Regions from separate parts of the Homo sapiens genome. Here regions 2 and 3 are each linked to region 1. The links are contacts of gene promoters, found by promoter capture Hi-C in blood cells and fetal thymus (Javierre and others, 2016). All regions are on one chromosome and are shown on one strand. The core of a region is centred on a gene start or on the middle of the fragment in contact, and the rest is flanking DNA. Distances in the headings are between cores, read along the strand shown.

Region 1 (4,375 bases), core at 512-3,011:
GTAACCTGTAAGTTACACAATCCTATAAAACAGGAGAAAAATTAAGCAAAAAATTTACTCTTGGGAAAATTTCTCCGTAAAGTTTACATGACGTCACTGGGCCCCCTGAACATTCCCTAAACTTTGAGACTTATCCAGACACACTTCCTAATACTTCTTTCCTTTCCTCAAAAATAAAAAAGAGAGAGACTTGGGAATAAAATTGCCCAAGATGGCGAAACGCTTGTTGTTTAGAGGGCAGGAAAAAAAATGGAGGATATTGTAATATACACAAAGGGATAAATTTCAACAACTCGGCCAAGGACTGCAGCTGCTTCCCTCTTTATAAGGAAGCAACAGACAAAAGATAAATACAGAGGGAGAAAGAAAAGAAGAGAAAATCTCCCAAACAACAGAGCCAGCTCTGACTCTTCAAACACTTCCTTCCCCTTCTCAAATCCCAATTCTGGGGTTCGTGAAACTACTTAAAGGGGAGGGAGCCGCGAAAGAGAACGGGGGCTGGGGGGAGGGGTAGCGACAAGAAGATTAAAAGAGGGAAGCAGAGGAGTTGGGAGCTGGCGGTCGTTCCCGGGGAAGAACTGCTAAAACATGAGACCAAGGCACAGACCTTACTGTATGAGAAGCAATGCTCCTCAAACCTTCTGCGTGCTGACATAGACCTTCCCAGGTATCCAGATCTTTTCCCAATCCCACCTGCCCCACCCCCACCCCCGCTCATCTTCAGTAAACTCAGAGCCTCCAGCTACACACGGGAGAGCTAGAGGCCCAAGCCGGGGAGTGGGGGTGGCAGACGCAGCTCGTCAGTCCGACAGGGAAGAGGGGGCGGAGGCAAAAAAGGGCAGCAGGAGGCGGACGGGGGTGGGGGGTGATCCAGAAACTACCCCGGCAGGGAGTGGGGGAGCAGCGGATATTCCGGGGTAGGAACGGCCATCGCAACGCTGACAGAGGTTGTTTTTTAAGAAGCAAAACTGTTGGCGGCGACCTGAGCGCTGGAAGCCGAAGGGGAAGAGGAAGGAGACGCGAAGCCAGGGCGGCCGGCACAAAGGCGGCGGACTCGCGGCGGCAGCGCCTGCCCGGCCGGGAGCACAACCCACGGCCCTACTCCAGCGAAGTCCCGCACCGGCTTCTAGGAATAAAGTTTACGTTCTCCTGAGGCCGCACCCCCCACCTCCCACCCAGGACGGCACATCTCCGTGTCCTCCTCCCCCAAACTCCACTCGGGACCCCGAGAACCACCCCAGCCTTCCGGCCACCACAACAAAGAGCCGCACCGACCGGCGAGGATAAACAGCGGCGGAGGGCGAGAGGGCGGCGGGGCGAGCGCCTCCACGCAGCAACTCCGGAGTCCCCCGCTTGCCCGAGCGCAGTTTCTCCGCTGCTGTTTCCACCGGCTTTGTAACACTGGGAATTTACATCCTCACCCGCACCCCTCACGCCCGAGGATTTTAAACTCACCTTTACTCTCGAACTGAGAGTTGCGGTAGATGGGATTTTTGCCTTTTCCCCAGATGGTTGAAGGTTAAGATTTTTGGAAACCCCACCACCTCCTTATTTCTATTATTATTTCTGCAAGAAAAGTATAAAGAGAGTTGTAGTGGAGGTGAGATTTGTGATCGGGAAAGCCTTCGACTCCCTCCTTCTCCGTCTTCCGCCTCTCTCTCTCTGATTAGTTCCTATCCAGCAGCAGATTGAAGCAGGAGATGATTCTTCTCAAGGTTTGTTCAGCAGCTTCACTTCTAGGCGAAGGCTTCATGAACCAAGTGACGTCAACCAACAAGGCTTCTCTCTCTCTCCTCTCTCTAACAATGAAAGTTGCTGTTAACAAGGGAAAAAAAGAGAGAGAATTGTTTATACCATTTCAGTTCCAATAATAAATGACCTATCAGCTCCTAAAGGAGCCAAGGGAGGGGGTTGCTTCTTCTTTCCAAGAATACTGTAGCTTTGAGTTTGCACCGTTCCTTGTCCCAGGAAAAAGTTAAGAAACTTAAAATGTTTTGTTTTGCTTTTAAAGAAGACAGGACAGAAAACGGGATTTAAAACTTAGTTTTTAAAAAAACAAAAGCTACAGAGTAGGGAGCATAGGTCAACCATCTCCACCTAAATTTTTTTTGTTCCTAAACTCAGAATTCTACAACCCAACTAAATTAATATGCCAAGATTTTGCGGATGTTAAAACTCAAAAAAAGCAGTATGCAAGACGGTCCCGGGGTAAAATTCTACTGCCTTTCCACGGACAAGTTAAACTGGCTGTAATGTTTATGCACTAAGTTAAAATAAAATTTAAATAAAAGACGTTAAAATAGTCGTTTTAAAGTTATATGCACACACTGTAAAAGGTAATCTCGATAGCTTTTTTTCAAGTTTCTGAGAGATTAGAAAAAAAGCATAGCAAATTGTAGGCACTGAACACTTTTTAAAAATCAAGTTATGAGTAAGACTGGTAGCCCTTTGCTCCTTTAAACTACAAATGCAGTCATATGCTATGGTCTACCCCCAGAATCTCTTCCAACTTTGTTTTTACCCTTCCACTCCCCCAACCCCAATTCCCAAATCCTGCAACCAATCAAGTTAAACTAAAGATACAATAGGCCCCATTCCCTCCCGCACCCCATCCTATAGATTCCTAAAAACAATTTTTTTAAAAGCCTTAATCTTGATAACACTTTATTAGCCAAGAAGATACGTATTTTTTTTTTTAGAAGTTCGTTGAGGTACCGTTTTTTCCCTCCAGAACACAAGAAAGTCTCAAAGTTCATATAATTAAAAATTGCATAATTTAATTTTCAGGATGAAGAGTAAGTAAAAATTAAGCTATCGGAGAATAATTTGATCATCTATGTATATTTTATACATATGTGGATAAATGTATCTTAAAAGATGCTATTGTTTTATGTTTCCTCTTCAGCCACTGGCTGTGATTTTAATTGTGCTGGAGGATCTTCATTAGTATTAACACATGGGGAGATTTCACAAAGCTGCTTCATTAGGAAAAAAAAAAAGCTTGGCAGACTCGGTCTTTTTGCATGCACTGAGAATGTCAGCCTTACCTCGGTCATTTGTAACATAATAAGTGCAAGTACAATGATTGCAATGCAGGAGCACTGGGGGAAGGGCAGAAATACTGCCTGTCTAATAGGGATATCTGAAAAGAAGGCTGCTCATTACAGAGTAAAATGTATGCTAAAAATTAGTGAAGATGATGTCTCAGGAGACTGATGCTAAATAAATTAATGTGCTGATATGTTTTTAATTATTATTTTTGTAGTAGTTTATTTCATTCTCAGGATTCACATTGAGCAGCAAAGCTGTGCTAGCACTTATTGATTTTTTTTCCCTGCCACATTCCCGGAATACAGATTTTAATCATTTCACTACACCACACTCAGTAATTTCATTAAAAACTGGAATCTTCCATCCCCAGAAAAGCATTTAATTTCAATGACATACAATTTCTCTTTTAGCAGCAAACTGTCTCTACAGTAAAAACTGGCCTAAGGTTCAAATGCATAATTTAATCCTGAGTTTTCCATGCTCTGCATTCCTTTCAAGCTATAATTTGAGTAACTACCTAATAACTGTAATAAGGACAATAATTTCCTTATAATATATTATTAACTCATATTTAATTAACTCGGAGGCCAAGCTCTGTACATGTATGACTGGGTCAACAGTTCTATAATCTCAAAATTTACTAATAATGTTCCAGAAGAAAAATATAGATTAAAATATAAGTATGAATGCACTTAGTATCTAAGACTTCTATCCCAAGTCACATACAAAAAAGTTAATGCATTGTTCTATAATGGTGGTCATTAAATAAATAATATTTTTAAGTATGTGGAACTAAAAAATGGAATACACTGATATTTCTATGCGTAAAGTATTGAATATTAATGTTTTAACAATCTATTACTGACACTTTACCTAATCATTAGCATTACTGTTGAAAATATTTAATTTTGAAAAGATAAGGAAAAAGTGCTAGATTCAAGTTATCTTGATTTTCATAAAGAATTCTCCCAAAATATACCTCGCTTGAAATAAAGTTAAGTGGCACACTGTAACTCGAATAATTAAGAATACATCCTTTGCTTAAATACTTCAAACAATATACTGCAAAGCATGGTTCAATTTTTGGTTCCAATAATATTTTGAAATATTGGGATTGCAGATGCCACACTGGTTTCCCAAACAATGGTTTCATAATGATATGTAATTTACATTGCCTGGATTTTAGAAAAGAAACCTGTGAAAAAAAATAATTTAAAGTAATAAAATTCATTAATTTAAATTGTGGAAATATGTCTAATCTACAGAAAAAACAATATATGTAATGAAAGTGATTAACTACTATATAAAAACTCCAGTCATTCCC
Region 2 (4,312 bases), core at 361-2,860, 560 kb before region 1:
AAGGTGTCTGTCTCCCCAAATCCTCCATATTGGCATTGTAGCCCACCTCCCAGGGTTCTCCCCCTGTGGGCTAATGAACTCAAGAGCTTGCTCATTTTGGCATGTGTTCTGTTGCATGGTGCCTCCAGGTCACACATGGACAGCACTGTAGTTTGAAATAACTGATAACTCGAGGGACTGTACTGTAGATGTCTCTCAGTGGAGGCAGGTGTTTTTGTTTTTTTCAGGATAGATTTGCAGCATGGGATGCTGCTCTAGGAGTGAAGTGTGTGTGAGCCGTGTGTATGTTTGGCCAAAGCCGATTTATCTTTTCCACCTGTTGAGCAGCTTTGCCTTTGACTCTCACCACTCCCTGGGGGCTGGTCTCTCTTCTTTTCAACTGAAAGGAGGCCTGGTAGACTGACTGCATGGTCAGGCTGGGGATCAAGACTGCCTGGATGCACACTGAGTTGTGTGACCCTGGGCAAGTCACTAGCTTGTCTGTGCCTTTGTGGAATGGAGATTAACAGTACCTTCCTCAGACGGTGGTTGTGAGGATTTAATCAGTATATGCATGGTAAGTGCTTAGAACAGGGCCAGGCATATGGATAGTGGTAAATAAGGGGTGCTGGCTGCACATTAGAATCACCTGGTGGGTGATTCTAATCACCCTGCGTGGGTATTGAGAACTCCAATCCTAATGAAATTAGGGCCTGGGGAGGTTATAACCTTGTTCAGCAAGTGGAGGAGCGTTTTTGATGTCTTATATTCTGGGCATTAAGTGAAAGATCCATCTGTCAGCTACATAAGCAAGAGATCATTCTGTGATGAATAGCTGCCTTTCACAGGCATCTTTGAGGCTGTCTGACCCTTCACTTTGAGGCCAGATCCAGTGCAATTTAAAAATTTTAATTTCCTTAGGTTTATAATACCAAATTTCATTCAGCTGGCATTGATTGAGTGCCTTTTAACACTTTTTGAAAATGTCCTCAAGGTCTCTTTTCATAGTAAAAGCTTATCACGCATACAGTGGCCTCCTCTGAGGGGTTCCTTTTTCATCTGTGATGATGGTTTATTGTGTACTGTGCTTACAGTGGTCTTAGGAACAAGAAAGTTTCCCCCTTAAAAATTATAATGCCTACAGGTGGAAGAGACCTGAAATTATCCAGTCCAGCAGGAAAGGGAACAGTATTCTTGGTGAAATAACAACTTGTCCAGAATCACTTTGTATACATAATGCCTCTACCTGTATTCTGGGAGTTGCGATTGCACATCAGGAAGGTGGGCAGTGTAAGTTGGGGATTGTAGCTCTGTTGTATGACACAAGTGGGAAACAACAGGAAGGAGAAAGGAAAAGAGAATGTAATTCTGAGTGTGGTTGTTGTGGAGCTAACTGTCATAAGGAGGATTGGGACTTGGGTTTCCGGTTGCCCTAAACCTTACACAAAGAAAGACTCTATGGCCCTAGCCACGCCTTCTACTGAGTTATGTGAGAGGAGGAGACCACGATCAGACTGTGGTTCATACTCAAACCCTAGGTGGTTCTCCAGGAGCTTTTTAGCTGCATGGCTACTGGGTCCCTGAGGTGATGCTGGTATCCATAACTGCTACACTTTCATCCTCATGCAAAGCCTCCCTTTCTTTGAGGCGTGTATTCTGTGCTGTCCTGATCACCTCCCTATTCCCCCTACCCTCAGTTCATTGAGGACTTTGGAGGCAGCTATTCAGTGCCTGAGCTTTCAAGTCAGGCCTGGGTTCACATCACAGATTTGCCTTTACTAATCCTGTGGGCTTTATCATTGTCTGGAATTGTTCCACATCCAAATTTTAAAAATTCTTTAAAAAGAACCAGACTCTTTCAACTTCCTCATTCATTTATTCCGACTGTGTTTGTTCTTTGATCTCTTTGAGACACCATACTTTTTCTCTCTGGCTATCCTACCTCTCAGGGCTTCATTCCCTTCCTGACCAGCCTTGATTTCACAGCACACCACTCTGAGCACTCCTGTACTGGCCCCTGCACTGTGAACTCCTGATCATTGATCAGATCCTGCATTCTCTGGACCATCCCTGGATGGTTCTTGGGGCTGAGAGTCAGAGAAGGGAATTGCACAGCATAGCTTATTTATTTATTTATTTATTTATTTTAGCCCAAGTGCTGTTTATTTAAAAGAACAAAAAAGAGTGGAGGCCCCCTAGGGACGGATGAAACAAAACTAGCAGTGCAAGTCTGCCTCTAGCTCAGCATAAAAGCTTGTTGCCCCACTGGGCCATCTTGTTGTTGATAGGCATCTTCAAGAAGCAGTCAGACTGCATGTAGGCAGCAATTTTCTCCAAAGCCTCAACGGCACATGAAAGCCTTAAGATGTGGGAACTCATCCAGGCACTTGGGCTCAAACATGCACTTTTGATCCAGGACGTCATAGATGGGAAAATCCACAAAGGTGAGCTTTCCCCTGCAAACCATGAGAATTTCTCCCAGGAACATGGAGAATTGTTTCAGTTGTTCAGGTAGCTGTTCCAAGTACTGAGGTTTCAGGGTTGGTTTTTATTTATTTTATTTATTTATTTTTTTTTTTGAGATGGAGTCTTGCTCTGTCGCCCAGGCTGGAGTGCAATGGTGCGATCTCGGCTCACTGCAACCTCCGCCTCCCGGGTTCAAGCTATTCTCCTGCCTCAGCCTCCTGAGTAGCTGAGACTACAGGCGCCCGCCACCACGCCCAGCTAACTTTTTGTATTTTCAGTAGAGACGGGGTTTCGCCGTATTAGCCAGGATGGTCTTGATCCCCTGAACTTGTGATCCACGAGAAAAGAGAAGCCTCCCAAAGTGCTGGGATTAGAGGCGTGAGCCACTGCGCCTGGCCAGGTTTCAGTTTTTCATGGTCAGAGTTGTAACAGCACTGTATCAGTTGTGTGCAGAAACTGGTTGCTTGGTTCTCTAAAATGTCCACTTGAATCTTTTCAGTCTTACCACACATGTGCTTGCCAGCAGTGTAGCACAAGATGGCATTGCTCTGGGTGACCTTGTTCTTCCCGTCCATGAAGTTGGGCAGATTAGGAAAGTCCAGGTCTAGCTTGAATATCACATCCAGCCATTGGCTTCAATCATAGGAGTTTCCTGGCATGTGTACCATTTCTCCTCATAGGACATATCCGTGAACTACAGGAGCAGGCAAATGGTGTGTGCCAGCCCGCAAATATTCCACTAACCCAGAACCATAGATGAGTTGCACGATATGATGATGCTACTTGTGAGCCTTTGAGGATAGGAGCAGTTTCATAATCGGGTGTTATGGCCTGGTCTGCAGCCTAGTTTGGATGATCAGAGCTGTTCAGCTGTCCGTTTTATTGTTTTTGGTTTTTCTGAGAATCTCCTTCTGTTGCCCAGGCTGGTCTCAAAGGCCTGGGCTCAAACGATCCTCCCAAAGTGCTGGGATTACAGGCGTGAGCCACCATGCCCAGCCAGCTGTCCTTTTAATCTCTTACTTGCCTTCCTCTCATCTACAGGGCTATCCTGAACCTTCACTGCACCTCTTACCTTGTTTTTACCTTGTAGACAAAATGGAGGCATGAATGTTTTTAGCTTCCTGCTCATGTTTGTCCACATGTTGTCTTCCTCCTCTGTCAGTTGTACTTGCCTTTGTGTCCCTTGTTGTTTGGCACAGGGTAGCAACGTACAGATGTATGTCGAATGAAAACCTGCAATTGCTAACCCAACACTCATTCCTTAATTGGAAAATTAGGTTGTAACCCAATTTCTGCCACTTGCTGGTCCAGGAGAGCCAGGGCAAGTTTCTCCATTGCTCATAGCCTGTAGAAGGATATTAATTTTACTTAAAGTTATTAAAGGATAACAGTCTGTTTTTAGGTACAATAATTCCCTTTGAAAATTATAGATTAAAATTATGTTTCTCCACAACCATTCATTGATGTTGAAATTGGAAAACAAATACTTTGCTGGGGTGGGGAGCAAGGCAGGGTCTGACCATTCAGAGGCCCAAAGCCTGGTGAAGGAAGCAGGTGTATAAACAATTAAAATAAGATGAAGAAGGCTTCGAAGATGAGGTGATTCTGTGGTGTGTTTTGAAGTGGGTGGGCTTATGAAATTCTTTTGCTTTCTCTAATATATCTAAACATCTATGTAAATACCTGGATGATATACAGTACTAGTGACAATATTGGAGTTTTGTCTTCTAGTTAGCCGTGTTTTGCTGCTGTGGTAGGGAGGTAAGTCTCAGCTAGGGAGCACTCAGGTGACAGGGAAATGAAGACAGGGAACTCCTGCCTGTAAGTGAGCAGGAGCTCTCTGCAAGACTGAGCTCTGCCTTGCACA
Region 3 (4,232 bases), core at 1,542-4,041, 720 kb before region 1:
CACTAGCGCCATCTCGGCTCACTGCAATCTCTGCCTCCTGGGTTCAAGCCATTCTCCTGCCTCAGCCTCCCGAGTAGCTGGGATTACAGGTGCATGCCACCACACCTGGCTAATTTTTGTATTTTTAGTACAGACGGGGTTTCACCACATTGGTCAGGCTGGCCTCCAACTCCTGACCTCGTGATTCACCCACCTCAGCTTCCCAAAGTGCTGGGATTACAGGTGTGAGCCACCGCACCTGGCCCCACTTCCATTTAATGAATGGTAAATATTTTTGTCTTCGTTATGATTTTCTTCTTCTTCTTCTTCTTTTTAATGTTTTATAGAGACAAAGCCTCACTATGTTGCCCAGGCTGGTCTTGGACTCCTGAGCTCAAGTGATCCTCCCATCTCAGTCTCCCAAAGTGTTGGGATTACAGGCATGACCGACTACACCTGGACCCTTATGATTTTCTTAATAATATTTTATTTTCTCTAGGTTACTTTATTGTTAAGAATACAGGATATGGTACACATAACACACAAAGTGTGTGTTAATTGACTATGTTATTGGTAAAGCTTCTGGTTAACAGTAGGCTACTAGTAGTTAAGTTTTCGGGGAATCGAAAGTTACACACAGTTTTTTTTTTTACTTTGTGGGGGATCAGTGCACCTAACTCTTGCATTGTTCAAGGGTCAACTGTACCATGACATTGAGGACTAGGACTCTAACATATGAAATTGGGGGGACATAAACATTCAGCACATAACACAGGTAAATAGCATCTTCTCAAAGCAATAGCAAGCTCAACTGAAATTATCAAATGATTGTTTACTGTTTGAAGACTCATTTCAAAAGCCTATCCTCTCTGTATTCACCAATACTAAACTATTATGAACTTTGTCCCATCTCAGTCAAGCCTGACATTGAAAGACCCACCTTAAACATAGACCCCAGAAACCTCATAAATATCCCCACCTCTGGCTTCCCTGCTATTAAGATTTCATCAAGATCGTAACCTCCACAGCAGCCAACAATATAATCGAGTCAATTTTTAAATTTTTTAATAAAAAAGTATACAGGACAAAAAGGGAAACATGTAATGGATTGATACCTTTAAAACACAATCATGTAAAAAAAAAAAAAAAAAAAAGGCAAGCCAGGCATTGTGGCTCACAGAGGTAATCCCATCACTTTAGGAGGTCGAGATGGAAGAATCACTTGAGCCCAGGAGTTGGAGAACAACCTGGGCAACATAGTGAGACCCCATCTCTAAAAAAAAAAAAAAATAGCTGGGTGTGGTGGTATGCCTCTGTAGTCCCAGCTACTCAGGAGGCTGAGGTGAAAGGATCACTTGAGCCCAGGAGGTCAAGGCTTCAGTGAGCAGTGATTACACCACTGCCTCCAGCCTGGGCAACAAAGCAAGACTCTGTCTCAAAAATAAAAAAAAAGAAGGCAAACACATACGTACATTTGGTCTGTTGCACTAATGAATAGGATTATGGTTTCTATTTTCAAGCCTTCTACAAATTTGTCAAGAACTGTGAAAATCAAACTTCTTCATTCATATTAAACAAATAATATTTTAATTACTTTAATTTTGAAAAGCACAAATAGTTAAGAAAAACACAAATAGTTAAGAAACACAAATAGTTAAGAAAAAACTTAAGCATCAAGGTGAGATTGATTCATAAAAATTCCATGTCAAAGTCAATCTGAGATTGTAATACAGTCCATGTAATTTCTTGAGGATGAATTATAGCAGTTTTCAAACATCTCTGCAGTGAAAAAAAAATTCCCTCAAGTATCCTCACCAGGAAATTCATGATAAATTTCTTCTGCATTTAGTTAAAACTTCTCAAGTTATTCTTTTGCAAAAATCAGAGAAAGTGGCTGAGTGATAGTAAATGTTCATCGTATTTGATCCTTTATTTTAGAATGAATGTCCAGTTCTTGCTGAAAATAACTCAGGCATTCAAAATTGTCTTTTTGATTTCTTCTGGCCATGTAAGGCCTGCATCTTTTGTTGTTTCTCCTGACATTTTTCTTTGAAATGTCCATTTCCTTATATTTTGTTTTTGCAGAGTTAATGGTCTTCTTGAAGTCTATGTACCCATCTGCAGTAAACAATTTCACTGTACACTGTTCTAGGTTGATTCTGGCTGTTTGTTAATATGTTTGTGAAGTCACGTAGAATGACAGAATTAAAGTTACCCAAGCTCTGTTTCTTTGTCTTTACTATCACTGTATTATCACTGATCATTTCAAATGTACACTTTAGACTCAGAAATACATGGTAGAACTGTGCCCAATCTGAGGTCTGATAGTTACAATTTATCATGAACTTACTCCTGAAACAAATGCTTGTAGCTGCATATGTCATAGGCCAACTGCGTAACTGGAAATTCTCCAAATTGACTTCCATGACGTAGAACAGAATGTTTGTGAAAGGATATATAATGAAAACGTGCTAATTGGAAGCATACATAGTTAAAAATGGAAAGAAAGCAAAGTCCTTGTTTAGAACTTAAATGAAAAATGTTCAGGGAGAATTAGTTTATCATTGCTGTTTAGAATCACTGTTTGATGGTGATAATAAAGCACAGGCCACCTTTTAGTTAGTTTTACTATTGTTTTTCAGTTTCCTTCAGGTAATGCCCACCTTAGTGCCTGCACAGGGAGGATGCTCCCATGGGCCTGCCCCCAGTCCCCCACCTCCTGAGGTCGCCCAGGAGGGAGACTCGGGTAAGACTGCAGCCACCCCTGCAGCAGGACTTCTTCCTTGTCCAGACCATCCCGGCCGGGCACGGTGGCTCGTGCCTGTAATCCCAGCACTTTGGGAGGCCGAGGTGGGCAGATCACTTGAGGTCAGAAGTTTCAGACCAGCCTGGCCTGGCCAACATGGTGAAACTGAAATACAAAAATTAGCTGGGCGTGATGGGGACAGCACCAGCCTGTAATCCCAGCTGCTCAGGAGGCTGAGGCACAAAGCTCGCTTGAACCCAGGAAGCAGAGGTTGCAGTGAGCCAAGATTGCGCCACTGCACTCCAGCCTGGGTGACACAGTGAGACTCTCTCAAAAAAAAAAAAGACAATCCCAATTATCTTCACATCTCCACCTCTCAGGCCAGGGGACTATGCCCAATTCAGGAGAATATACTAATTAATCTAAAATTTTGAGTTAATTTCTCCTTGCCTGTAATGGTTTAGGAGTGGGTATTTGTTGAAAATCTAGCCAAAGAAGTTTGAGGGAAGTCTAATTTGGGGGCTTCTAAATCCATCAATGCACTCCAGGCATTGTCTATAGCTAAACAAATAAGGTGTATGTTATATACATACATACATACATATATATGTATAAAACACATATATTGTATAACACATGTATATAGCACATATGTATATATACACACACAAAGATATATATCACCTTGTTTCTTATGTATGTGTATACTATTGAGATTAATAAAAATAAAAATACACGTTCACATAAATGAGGTACTAAATTCATAGAATCTTTTAGTCTTTATGTATTTTTCTCAATCAAAAGATACAAAAAGTACAAATACTATTACATGCAGGTTCATGTCTTACCCTTATGCTTAAAAGGAGTCCTCATTAGTGGACAGCATTCTATTTCTCTCTTTGTCATTAAATAGCCTATCATCGAATTTTTCTATCAACCACTAGAGGGTAGTATAGACCAGAAAAAAAGCCCAAGCATCCAGTTGGCGGCAGCACATTCCTGAGACTAAGTGCTGCAGTGATAAACAGCCATTTGGTTAGAATGACCAGTGTAGGCAAAACAATTTAGGCCCCACTTTATAAAAACTCAAAATAAAAATACCGTTACCGGCCAGGCGCGGTGGCTCACACCTGTAATCCCAGCACTTTGGGAGGCCGAGGCGGTTGGATCACGAGGTCAGGAAATCGAGACCATCCTGGCTAACACGGTGAAACTCCGTCTCTACTAAAAATACAAAAAAAATTACCCGGGCGAGGTGGCGGGCGCCTGTAGTTCCAGCTATTCGGGAGGCTGAAGCAGGAGAATGGCGTGAACCCGGGAGGCGGAGCTTGCAGTGAGCAGAGATTGTGCCACTGCACTCCAGCCTGGGCGACAGAGCCAGACTCCATCTCAAAAAAAAAAAAAAAATACCGTTACCAAATTCCATGAGAAATGTGTATATTTAACTGGTTAGACAAATTTAGACATGAAGTGCTCAGAGTGTAGGACTGGAGTGACTAGGTTTGAA

What was found. Contacts are between HindIII fragments. The CHiCAGO score rates a contact against its expected background, and 5 or more counts as called.
Region 2: a contact is called between a fragment that was not itself captured here and the fragment with the promoter of BAZ2B in region 1, in 1 of 17 cell types (erythroblasts). The highest score is 5.1, in erythroblasts.
Region 3: a contact is called between a fragment that was not itself captured here and the fragment with the promoter of BAZ2B in region 1, in 1 of 17 cell types (erythroblasts). The highest score is 5.6, in erythroblasts.

The regions. Positions count from the first base shown.
Region 1 is chr2:159,614,787-159,619,161 of GRCh38, forward strand. It overlaps BAZ2B (bromodomain adjacent to zinc finger domain 2B), which reads right to left and starts at 1,762. Exons shown (of 37, transcript NM_013450.4): 1 at 1,456-1,762. It overlaps BAZ2B-AS1 (BAZ2B antisense RNA 1), which reads left to right and starts at 508. Exons shown (of 2, transcript NR_110588.1): 1 at 508-667; 2 at 964-3,256. RefSeq lists enhancers at 1-241, 1,298-1,824, 1,452-1,531, 1,782-1,851. The HindIII fragment of the contact is 3,593 bases long and covers 1-2,998 here.
Region 2 is chr2:159,053,772-159,058,083 of GRCh38, forward strand. The region is part of intron 2 of TANC1 (tetratricopeptide repeat, ankyrin repeat and coiled-coil containing 1); the gene reads left to right. It also overlaps the pseudogene GSTM3P2. Among named protein-coding and RNA genes, the nearest start is that of TANC1, 87 kb to the left of the region's middle. The HindIII fragment of the contact is 1,239 bases long and covers 992-2,230 here.
Region 3 is chr2:158,897,787-158,902,018 of GRCh38, forward strand. No RefSeq gene overlaps it. Among named protein-coding and RNA genes, the nearest start is that of TANC1, 69 kb to the right of the region's middle. The HindIII fragment of the contact is 4,470 bases long and covers 557-4,232 here.